Linked DNA regions of Homo sapiens: all the other regions are linked to region 3. The links are contacts of gene promoters, found by promoter capture Hi-C in human tissues and cell types (Jung and others, 2019). All regions are on one chromosome and are shown on one strand. Each heading gives the region's core, a stretch centred on a gene start or on the middle of the fragment in contact. The rest is flanking DNA. Distances are from core to core; before and after follow the strand shown. Region 1 holds the start of C20orf173 (chromosome 20 open reading frame 173). Region 2 holds the start of SPAG4 (sperm associated antigen 4). Region 3 overlaps MMP24-AS1-EDEM2 (MMP24-AS1-EDEM2 readthrough).

Evidence for each region. Contacts are between HindIII fragments. The study calls those that stand out against the background at their distance.
Region 1: a contact is called between the fragment with the promoter of C20orf173 here and a fragment that was not itself captured in region 3, in 2 of the 25 tissues and cell types used here (dorsolateral prefrontal cortex and pancreas).
Region 2: the fragment with the promoter of SPAG4 here is called in contact with a fragment that was not itself captured in region 3 in 3 of the 25 tissues and cell types used here (dorsolateral prefrontal cortex, pancreas and spleen).

What each region holds. Positions count from the first base shown.
Region 1 is chr20:35,528,047-35,532,014 of GRCh38, reverse strand. It overlaps C20orf173 (chromosome 20 open reading frame 173), which reads left to right and starts at 2,363. Exons shown (of 6, transcript NM_001145350.2): 1 at 2,363-2,456; 2 at 2,591-2,950; 3 at 3,136-3,314; 4 at 3,471-3,564; 5 at 3,731-3,782. The coding sequence starts at 2,642. The coding sequence ends at 3,757. The HindIII fragment of the contact is 31,043 bases long and covers 1-3,968 here.
Region 2 is chr20:35,613,709-35,617,499 of GRCh38, reverse strand. SPAG4 (sperm associated antigen 4) reads right to left here and starts at 1,671. Exons shown (of 12, transcript NM_003116.3): 1 at 1,193-1,671; 2 at 260-364. The coding sequence starts at 1,496. RefSeq lists enhancers at 1-165, 196-465 and a silencer at 896-1,625. The HindIII fragment of the contact is 21,465 bases long and covers 1-3,791 here.
Region 3 is chr20:35,257,704-35,261,509 of GRCh38, reverse strand. The region is part of intron 2 of MMP24-AS1-EDEM2 (MMP24-AS1-EDEM2 readthrough); the gene reads left to right. The region is part of intron 4 of MMP24 (matrix metallopeptidase 24); the gene reads right to left. Among named protein-coding and RNA genes, the nearest start is that of MMP24-AS1-EDEM2, 19 kb to the left of the region's middle. RefSeq lists an enhancer at 1-236. The HindIII fragment of the contact is 5,720 bases long and covers 1-3,806 here.

The sequences.
Region 1 (3,968 bases), core at 1,114-3,613, 270 kb before region 3:
AAGCTATACAATATCCAGTGCAGCTTTCCACTAGTTAAGATGAAGAATTTTACTGTTCTTATCCCATTGAATAAAATGTTTTGATTTTTTTTAAAAACCAAAATGTTCTGTTTTTTTCTTAAACTTTAAAAACAACTCAAACATTTTCATTTTTTTACTATCTTTACAAGACTACAATTGAATTAAGGGGGTGGCAGTGGAGATGAAGAAGATGACTTAGAAATAGAAACGAATTAAAAAATGGATTTGAGGCCAGACTCAGTGGCTTATGCCTGTAATCTCAGCACTTTGAAAGGCCGAGGAGGGTGGATCACTTGAGCTGAGTTCGAGACAGGGCTGGCACAGTAAACCCCATCTCTACTTAAAAAAAAAAATCAGCAAGGCTCGGTGGCTCACGCCTGTAATTCCAGCACTTTGGGAGGCCGAGGTGGGCGGATTGCTTGAGACCAGGAGATGGAGACCAGCCTAGCCAACACAGTGAAACCCCGTTTCTACCAAAAAAATACAAAAATGAGCCAGGTGTGGTGTTGTGCGCCTGTAGTCCCAGCTACCTGGGAGGCTAAGGCATGAGAATCACTTGAACCTGGGAGGTAGAGGTTGCAGTGAGCCAAGATTGTGCCACTGCACTCCAGCCTGGGCGACAGAGTGAGACTCTGTTTCAAAAATAAATTAAATAAATAAATAAGCCTAGCGTGGTGGCACACTTCTGTAGTCCCAGCATCTTGGCAAGCTGAGGTGAAAGGATTGCTTGAACCTTGGAGGCAGAGGCTACAGTGGGCTAAGATTGTGCCACTGCACTCCTGCCTGGGTGACAGAGTGAGACTTTGTCCTAAAAAAAAAAAAAAAAAAAGAATTTGGGTATCATAGGAGTAGGAGGAATTAATAACACATGAGTTCTGGTTTCAATAACTGGGTACGTGGTGGAACCATTTGTTGAGATAGAGAAGTTTTGAAGCTGGGTGCAGTGGCTCACGCCTGTAATCCCAGTACTTTGGGAGGCCGAGGTGGGCAGATTACCTGAGGTCAGGAGTTTGAGATCAGCCTGGCCAACATGGTGGAATCCCGTTTGTACCAAAAATACAAAAAATTAGCCGGGCTTGGTGGCACGCACCTGTAATCCCAGCTATTCGGGAGGCAGAGGCAGGAGAATTGCTTGAACCCCGGAGGAGGCAGAAGTTGCAGTGAGCTGAGATTGCGCCACTGCACTCCAGCCTGGGTGACAGAGCAAGACTCTGTCTCAAACAAAACAAAAGAGACAGAGAAGTTTTGGGAAGGGTTGGTTTACAGGGAAAATCCTGGGTTCAGTCTCAGGCTTATTCAGGTGAGATGTCTCTGAGCCATCTAAGTGGCAATTCAGTAGGCTGTTGGATATGGGGTCTAGAGACTACAAGAGAGGATTGAGTTGATGTCACACAACTCCAGAGAGGGCATCACACACAAGTATATTTAAAGTTCCAGGCTGGGGCGGGGTGCAGTGGCTCATGCCTGTAATCCCAACACTTTGGGAGGCCAAGGCGGGCGGATCACCTGAGGTCAGAAGTTCGAGATCAGTCTGACCAACATGGGGAAACCCCGTCTCTACTAAAAATACAAAAAAATTAGCCAGGCGTGGTGGCGGGCACCTGTAATCCCAGCTACTTGGGAAACCGAGGCAAGAGAATCACTTAAACCCGGGAGGTAGAGGGTGCAGTGAGCCGAGATCGTGCCTCTGCACTCCAGCTGGGGCGACAAGAGTGAAACTCCGTCTCAAAATAATAATAATAATAATAATAATAATAATAATAATAATAATAATTTAAAAATAAAGTTCCCGGCTGGGCATGGTGGTTCACGCCTGTAATTCCAGCACTTTGGGAGGCTGAGGTGGGCGGATCACTTGAGGTCAGGAGTTTGAGACCAGCCTGGCCAATATGGCGAAACCCTGTCTCCACTAAAAATATAAAAATTAGCCAGGCGTGGTGGCGCATGCCTGTAGTCCCAGCTACTTGGGAGGCTGAGGCATGAGAATCGCTTGAACCAGGCAGGCGGAAGTTGCAGTGAGCCAAGATCATGCCACTGCACTCCAGCCTGGACAACAGAGCAAAAACTCCATCTCAAAAAAAAAAAAAAAAGTTCCCTCTCAACCCCTGTTTATTTATCCCATAAATATTTATTAAATGATTCTAAGTCTTAGAGCTGCAGAGGTGAAGAAGAGAGACTAGGTCAGCCCCTGTCCTCATGAATCTTACATCCAGTGGAGGTCATTTCGGTGTCAGAGAAAGGGTAGGGTGGTGGCTTTTTTCAGGCAGGCTAAAGGAGGGAGGTCACAATGTGTACTTTGTGATGAGATCTATGATATAACTGGGATGACAGCAAGGCCCCCACTGAGGTATTCCTTCCCCTCTCAGGACTAGCCACATGCTGTCTCTCTGCCCTGGCCTCTTCCACCCCATGCCCAGTCAGAGACCGTTTTGAGGGTGAGCAAATGGATAGTGAGGCAGGAGAGGAGGGGTTGGAAGGAGGTGGAAGGTGGTGGGATGGGGAGTTGTGGAGGCCGACAGGACAGAGGGAAGCTGGTGCTGTCTGTGGCCTCAGCCCCTCATCCTTACAGGTAGAGAAGCCAGTCTACGGCCCACCACGGGAGCCACCGCCTGGGCCAGACATGAAGCGCTGGCAGATTTTTGTCCTGTGGGTCTTTTGGGTGCTCATCCTCTGGCTGATGACCCCCTATCTGGATCTGACACCTGAATCAGCACCCCAGGAAAAACGAATGTACTTGGTACCACAGCATTGCGACTGCCCTTGGTTCAGTTCCGGGAAGTGTGGCTGCCCTTCTGAGACCCTCAACTGCTCCTCCTGCCACCACACAGCCGACGAATGGAACTGGCTTGATGCGTGCTCCAGGAAGACTATGGGGTACCTGATGAGGACAAGAGAGTCTATGACCTCTGACACTGTGCTCTGGTGGTTGGTCAGTGGTCAACACTGGGCCCGGCCATATCCCCCATGCTTTCCGGGCCTCACCCATCTCCCACTTTCCGCCCAAATCCCTGCCCTTGGCCCTGTCTTCACAGCCTCTGGATGGAGATCTCACCCACCCAGCTCTGTTTTCTCTCCCCTGGGCCCAGCCCCCAATCTCCCTCTTGCTGTTTCCAGGGCATGAACTCAGGGAGCGAGCTTGGGAAATTGTGGAGGAAGCTGTTTAAAGGGATTCCCAGGCTCTCGGTGAGCCATTTTGATTTCTATTGTGGGACTTGTGTGCTGTTGGGGCGCCCACAGATCCCGCAGGGCTCCAGCCTTGGCAACGACATCGACCAATACCCCGTGGTTTTCAGGTGGGTGCTGGGGAGAGGGCGGGAGCAGGAAGGCCAGGCCTGCCCCACAGTTCCATCAGTTTCTGCTCCCCTTCCCAAGATGAAGCAGGCCCCAAGTCCAGGGCTTTGAGATGGACGTGGGGAACCAAACCACACACAATGCTTCATCTATCCCAGGAATGCCAGCGACCAGGGCTCCTGGATGCAGCTGGAGATGCTACTGCGGAAGCTCTCTGACCTGGTGTGGACTTCAGATGCTCTAAGTGATAAGGTGATGGAGGTGTCCCCAGACATTCTCTGTGTGGGGGTGAGGGGAGGTCACTGCAGGGAGTAACAGCAGGGGCTCTGGGAAGACCTTCTATTGGCTTACTGGGGACACTTGCAGGACTTTCCCAGGTCTTGTGGCCCAAACTCCCCCACCTCCAATTCTTTCTCAGATTTTGGAAGATGGTCTGGTTCCCTAGTGGAGTGGAAGATAGCAAAGACACGGTGAGGGGGAATAGGAAAAGGGGTAGGATGTGGCTGTGGGTTGCTGTGGGAAGGGCCCCAGGTCAGTTCCCTCCCCCTTCCTCCCCAGGTGCAACCAGGACAACTGGCTGTCTTACCAGGGTCAGGGTCATCCCTGGGGCCCAAGGCTTTGTTCTGTGTCTTGCACAACTGTGCCCCGGCAGGAAA
Region 2 (3,791 bases), core at 422-2,921, 360 kb before region 3:
CAGAGAGGGGCCCACGGCAGGGAGAGGCGGGGCTCAGCCTGCGTGGTGTCCGGGTTCAGAAGGGGCTTGGGAGGGGCCGGGGGTGGGCCTGGGGCTCAGGAAGAGAGGGTCGGCTAGGATAATTGGATGGGGGCTAGGAATGAGTTGAGGCTCGGAGAGGGGCTCGATACTCAAACGGGGGCCGGGGGCTCAGAGAGAACTGGAGTTCGGAGAGGGGAACCCGAGGGTCAGAGGGGATCGCAGCTGGCCTGGCCCGTACTCAGAAAGCTCTTGAACACCCGCGGGGGAGGCATCTCCTGCCTCAGATCCAGGGTCGGGAGAAGGTCGAGCGGCTCCTCAGAGACTACTGGAGACCCAGTCGGTTCTGCGGGAACCCAAGGGCTCCACTGGGGCCTTGCGGACCACAGACCTATTTTCCCCTCGAGACCGGGCCGCAGATTGCTCAGTCCACAAGCCAGACAGCTGGGAAGTCTCTCACAGGCTTTGGTCCCACCGCAGCCCTATCCCGGCTCCAGCTCCGCCCTCTGAAGCCCCGCCCCTCAGGGAGGCTCCGTCAAGAGTTGGTCTCCTGGCCGGGCGCGGTGGCTCACGCCTGTAATCCCAGCGATTTGGGAGGCCGAGGCGGGCGGATCACCTGAGGTCGGGAGTTCGAGGCCAGCCTGATTAACACGGAGAAACCCCGTCTCTACTAAAAACACAAAAATTGGCCGGGCATGGTGGCGCACGCCTGTAATCCCAGCTACTCGGGAGGCTGAGGCGGGAGAATCGTTTGAACCCGGGAGGCGGAGGTTGCGGTGAGCCGAGATCATGCCATTGCATGGCATGGGCAACAGGAGCGAAACTCCGTTGCAAAAAAAAAAAAAAAAGAGTTGGTCCCTCCCCCAAACGGATGACCCGCCCCCAGCCTTAGATCTTGGTGGAACCCAATTGTCCTGGGAGCCACTCACGCTAACATTGAGGCCGCGCCCCCTCAGTGGCACCCAACCACAAGATTTTCCCCGCCCCTTCCCATAACCGTCCAGGACACCGAGGCTCCGCCCCTTAAGGGATCTCATTTAGCACCATCCCTTTACCCTACAGGACCCACCTTGTAGGAGGTGCCCAGATATCATCTTAGCCCCGTCCCCGCCCAGCACCGCCCTTTAGGCCCCGCCCCCTCCACTGGCTCACCCGGGGTCGACCCCGCCCGCACCCGAGGCCCCGCCCCTCACGGTTGCCGCGCCACAGGCTGTCTGCCAGTTGTGGCTCCGAGGCGCTGGCTTCTGCTGAGAGCTTCCTGCCCATGTGGTTCCTCCGGGCACTCCCGCGCTCAAGGCGGGCTCACCGCAGCTCGGGCCCCGGGCTCTTCTGCCCTCGGGCTCCCCAGGCCCGGGCTCCGCTGACCGGAGCCCTTTGCTGTCCTCCGAGGTGATGCTCATTGAGCTGTTCTCGCTGAAAAAGTTGGGCGTGTGCTTGCGCGAGGACGAGGCCGAGCCCGGGCGGGAGCTTCGCCGCATCCTGACCCCCTGCTGCCTAGTCACTGACGCTAAAGCCGCCGCTGCGGTCGCCAAGGCCCTGGGGCCTCCTTCAGCCGCTGCGCGCCGCGGGGACCCCACGGACCCTGCGTGAAGTCGGCAGGCCCCGCGGCCGCACCTGCCCTCCCGCTGTGTCCCGGCCGGCTGCTGACGTCACAGAGGAGCCTCGGTCTCCGCGGGCTGCCCTGGCCGCGCGTCACGGAGCTGGCCGTGACGTCACCTGGAGCCGTAGCCATGGCAGCCTCTCCTTCTGACTTTGTTGTTGTTTAAGAGACAGGGTCTTTCTCATTGCCCAGGCTGGAGTGCAGTGGCCTGATCATAGCTCATTGTAACTTCGAACTCCTAGGCTCAAGCGATCCTCCCGCCTCGGCCTCCCAAAGCGCTGGGAGTACAGGCGTCAGCCACCGCGCCCGGCCTCTTTTACAGCAAGCGATGATGTCACAGCACTTCCCAGAAAACCCCATCTAAAATGGCACTCAGTCTATAACAGTTTTTTTCTTTCTTTCTTTCTTTCTTTCTTTCTTTCTTTCTTTCTTTCTTTCTTTCTTTCTTTCTTTCTTTTTTTTTTTTTTTTGAGATGGAGTCTCATTCTGTTGCCCAGGCTGGAGTGCAATGGCGCGATCTTGGTCCACTGCAACCTCCGCCTCCCGGGTTCAAGCGATTCTCCCGCCTCAGCCTCCTGAGTGGCTGGGATTACAGACATGCACCACCATGCCTGGCTAATTTTGTATTTTTAGTAGAGACGGGGTTTCTCCATGTTAGTCAGGCTGGTCTTGAACTCCCGATCTCAGGTGATCCACCCGCCCCGGCCTCCTAAAGTGCTGGGATTACAGGCATGAGCCACTGCGCCCAGCATTTTTATTTTTATTTTATTTTTATTTTTTGAGACAGAGTCCTGCTGTGTCGCCCAGGCTGGAGGGCAGTAGTGCAATCTCGGCTCAGTGCAACCTCCGCCTCCCGGGTTCAAGCGATTCTCCTGCCTCAGCCTCCCGAGTAGTTGGGATTACAGACACCCGCCATCATGCCTGGCTAATTTTTGTATTTTTGTAGAGACGGGGTTTTACCATGTTGGCCAGGCTGGTCGTGAACTCCTGACCTCAGGTTATCCGCCTGCCTGGGGCTCCCAAAGTGCTGGGATTACAGGAGTCAGCTACTGCGCCTGGCCTCTTTTAAAGCAAGTGATGACGTCACAGCACTTCCTAGAAAACCCCATCTAAAATTGCACTTAGCAAATACCAGTTTCTATCCCCCTTCCCTGTTTTGTTTTTCTCCTCAGCACGTGTCACTAACATGCTATATATTTCATTTCTCTCTTTCTTTGAGATGGAGTCTCGCTCTGTTGCCCAGGCTGGAGTGCAGTGGCATGATCTCAGCTCACTGCAACCTCCATCTCCCGGCCTCAAGCAATCCTCCCGCCTCAGCCTCCCGAGTAGCTGGGACTACAGGCTTGCGCCACCACACCCAGCTAATTTTTGTATTTTTTGTAGAGATGGGGTCTCGCTATGTTGCCCAGGCTGGTCTTCAACTCCTGAGCTTGAGTGATCCACCCACTTCTGCCTCCCAAAGTGCTGGGATTACAGATGTGAGCCACCATGCCTGGCCCATTTATTTATTTCCTTATTGCCTGCCATGCCCACTAGAACATAAACTTAATCAGGGCACAGATTTTCATTCACTACTGTATCCTCCAGCACCTAGATAAGCCTAGCATGTAGTAGGTGCTCAAATATTTGCAAATAATGAATGTTAAGAAGGAGCAGGGCATCACTCAGGGCACTTCTAAATACTTAGTCCCCTTTGCTCTGCAAGCCCTTCAGCCCCCTCCTCTCATCCTAGACATCAGGTCAGAGAGCTCATTCAGGATCTGTGGGTCCCTCCTCCAGACCCATTTTTCCCAGGGGTCTGTGGGTTGAGAATTCAGCACCCACCAATCGTCATACCCACACTCAGGCTGCACACCTGAGCCATGGAGGAAAGAATGAGGAATCAGATGGTCACAGCCAGAAGACTAGAGGTCCCCAAACTCTTGCTATGTAACAGAATATCAGTGCAGCTTATAGAAATTCAGCTTCCCAGGCACACCTTGTGATTCTACTGCAGATACTGCAGAATTTCTGAGTTGGCCCAGGAATGTGCTTTTGTTTTGTTTTTGTTTATTTTTTAGGCAGAGTCTTGCTCTGTGGCCAGGCTGGAATACAATGGTACGATCTCGGCTCACTGCAACCTCTGCCTCCTGGGTTCAAGCAATTATCCCGCCTCAGCCTCCAAAATAGCTGG
Region 3 (3,806 bases), core at 720-3,219:
CAGATTACCTTCATTCCCCCTGCCAGTTTGTGAATATGGCCAGCAGGGCTACCCCTAAGCCTCAATGTCCTCACTTGTAAACTGGGGGCATCAGACCTACCTCACCGGGTTGTGTGAGGTTGAATAAGATACACGTGAAGTGCGTGGTATGACACAGAATGGCAGCTGTTGTAATCCTATGTAAGATAGAAGCTTGGTTACTGGAGGAAGCCCATTGACCAGAAAGGAAGCACGAGGCCAGTGGAGCGCCAGCAACCAGATCCTCTGAAAGCCAACTCCCCTGGGCTTCTGTATTGTGCCTAGGACAGGACAAGGAGGCCTGAACTTAGGGGGATGAAGTAACCGCAGCTTTGGGGAGAAAATGCAGGGGGTAGGGAGTCAGGTAGGCTGTGGATCACCAGTCCTGACTCCTGTCTGCCCAGTGTCAGACCCTTGCTTGCCTTGACCTCTGGCATTTGTAGCCCCTTGAGCCCTGCCTCTTATCTTCTGGCCCTAAGGCATGGCTCGGCCCATTCCTGCCACCTGTAAGTCCAGGGAGGCTGCCAGGAACCTAGGAGGTGGTCTAGAGTCCTACTGCCCACTCTGGCCCCAGCGTCACTGGCCTAGGGACACATGGGGGTGGGGATTGTTTGGCCTTCCTGGCTTAGGTCTCTGGAAGAGAGAAGAACCCCATGGGGCAGACCCAGGCCACGGGCAGTACATGCCTCCCACACTACTGACACCGCCAGTGTCTTCTGTGAAGCCACCTTTGAGCAACGGAAAGGAAGGGGGATGGGCAAGATCAGTGCAAGGTTGGCCAAAAGCCTGGGGCTGGCCTTCTGCTGGCATGAGAGGGCCAGGCCGCCCCCAGCTCCTTACTCAGGTCCTGGCCCCTCTGGCAGCAGGGAAGGGTGAGCTCATCGCTGAGCTCCATCCCAAACAAACTGGTAGAGCCAGCGGAAGGCAGCTCTGCTTCCTGGGGTCCAGTCCTGGCTGTGCTCCTGGGCTATTCTATGACCTGGGACAAGCTGTTCAGGGCCTCTGTCTCCTGAGCAGGCTCTTCCCCAGGGGCTGTCCACAGGGAGCTCAGCTGGGAACCAGGGAACACGGCTCTGAGCACTGTGGGAGACTCAAAACCTTTGTCCGCAGCCTTGTCTCTTGCTCTTTTAACCCCTGTTCTGGGTCTGCAGAGAACAGGAGTGACCCCTTAAAGGAAAGAGGCCTGTGGTTTGGGTCCAGGAACCAAAAGGAAGGGAAGAGCGAGGGAGCCAGTATCCTGCTGCACAGAAACCCAAGAGAGCCCTGAGGGGGAGACAGAGGGAGCAGGGCAGGGGCAGGAGGACTCCCTGAGCTTGTGAGGTGAAGGCAGAGGTATGAGGAGGAGAGGCCTGCTATGAGGACCCCATGCTCCATGGGCAGGAGGCTGCTAGGGTCTTCACTCTTCAAGAGGGTGAGCGGCAGGGAAGCAGAGTGGTCAGGAATGCAGTCTCTGGGAGCCAGACTGCCTGGTTTTGAATCCCAGCTCTGCCATGTCCTAGCAGTGTGACATTTTAAATTCTTCCTCTGGAAGATAGAAGGAACAATGGCACCTTCGTCATAGGGATGTGGGTGAAGATTCATGGGGCAGGGTGTGTAATGCGCTGATACCAGCTCCTGGTACAGAAGTATTACCCTTCATTAGCAGGGTCCTGTTGAGCTGTGTGTGAGCACCAGCACCCCTGATAGGGTGTGTTCCTGTAAGTCCCTGGGCCTCCGAGCAAGTCCCCAGCAGTCTACTCGGCTACTCAAGTGGACCTTGTCTCTGCCTCATTTCTTTCTTTTAGGATCTCCATATTTGGTCGTTCCCATCTCATTAACTCCCCCAGCCCCACGAAAGGTGATAGCATTTCCCTTTGCCTCTGTTCTTCTGCCAGTGCTGCCCCTTCCCCTGGAATAACCTGATTCCTTCAAAGTTCAGCTCCATGCCTGTCTTCCAGGAAGCCTTCCATGACTTCCCAGCTGGCAGTGAGTGCTCCTTCTGCTGTGCCCTCCCAGCAGTTTCCCTGAACTGCCTTTATGGCACTGACCGCTTCCTCCCCACGTGATTGCCACTAGTGCACATGCTCGCTGCCCCAGGACTGTGGGTTCCTTGAGGACAAGCTTTGTGTTGAAGAACCAGGTGACAGCCCCCGGAATGGAACAGCGCCAAAAGCACCGTATTTTACCAAGGGAAATACTCGGACCACCTGCAGCAGAACCACCTGTGGTGACTTAAAAATGCGGAGTCCTGGGGTCACACCTGGCTCTGCCACTTTCCAAAGGGGTGAATTTCCTATTTTTTTAAAAAGTATTTTCTTTCTTTTTTATTTTTGAGACAGGATCTCACTCTGTCACCCAGGTTGGAGTGTAGTGGTGCAATCTCGGCTCACTTGAACCTCCGCCTCCCGGGTTCAAGCCATTCTCCTGCCTCAGCCTCCCGAGTAGCTGGGATTACAGGCATGTGCCACCACACCCGGCTAATTTTTGTATTTTTAGTAGAGACGGGGTTTTGCCATGTTGGCCAGGCTGGTCTCGAACTCCTGACCTCAGGTGATCTGCCCCCCCTCGGCCTCCCAAAGTGCTGGGATTACTCCAGTGCTCCCATCGCACCTGGCCCGGGGAGCCTTTTAAACACATGGAGGAGGTGGGGAAGATATTCTGATTCAGGAGGTTTGGTTTGGGACGTAGGCAATCTTTTTTGTTGTTTTTTTTTTTTAAGTTCTCCAGGTGAATTGTATAATGGTTGGGTCAGGCTGACACAACCTGAAGCAAATGCTCGACCTCAACATCACTAAAAGTGGGACAGTCTGCATCATATGTATTTGCTAATATGGTGAATAGGAAGTACCAGCACCACCTAGGAAGTATTCTTGCCAAAAAAATTGAACTTGAATCTAGTCAGCCTGTAAATCTAATGAACAACATTCAGGAATTATGGGCAAGAGAGACGTATTAAAAGTAAACTTGATTCTAGTCACGCCAAATGATTATACTCGGGACACCTGACCCAGTTTCTTCAACAAATATATGGAGGGAAACGTGTGTGTAGGACGGGGGTGTTTTAAATAAAAAGGGCTTTAAGAGACATGTCAGCCATGTGTGTGTGGATCTTGTTTGGATCCTGATTCAAGCAAACAACTGTAAAAGACATTTCCAAGGTACTTTGGGAAAGTGAACTCGAACTGGGTATTAGATTTTAAAAAATTATTGTTAATTTTGTTGGGCTTGATAATGATTGTGTGCTTATGTTAAAAATTAGCCTTTATCTGTTAGAGGTATATACTAAAGTATTTAAAGGTGAAATGTTAGAATGCCTGAGATTTTCTTTAAAATACATCAGCCAAAAAAAGGTAGATAAATAGGAATGCCACAACGTTGATAATTGCTGAGGCAGGTGGTGGGTATCTGGGAGATCATAGAAGCATTCTTCCTACTTTTGTGAGTTTGAAATTTTCCATAATGAGAGTTTAGAAAAAAGAAGTAAGCTAATAAGTTCAAAAAGTTCCCAGGAAACTCCACCCCTTTGCTGAGTCTATGTGGAAATTAAACGAGATAATATATGGATGCTCAATAAATTTTGGTTCCTTGCCTCTCACCCAAAACCTGCCTTCACTGCATTCCAGTTCAGGAGTCGATTGCTGTGGTCCTGAGCTGCATCTGGACAGTTCCTGCTTGGTTTTCCAGAGCAGAGCAAAGTCCTGATTCTTATCCAAAGAAAACATTAGCAATCTTGGAATTTCTATCAGAATTGGCAGTCTTTCATGAAGGTTAGGGTTGGACAGATGGGAGAGGTGCTGGGATGGTGCCCA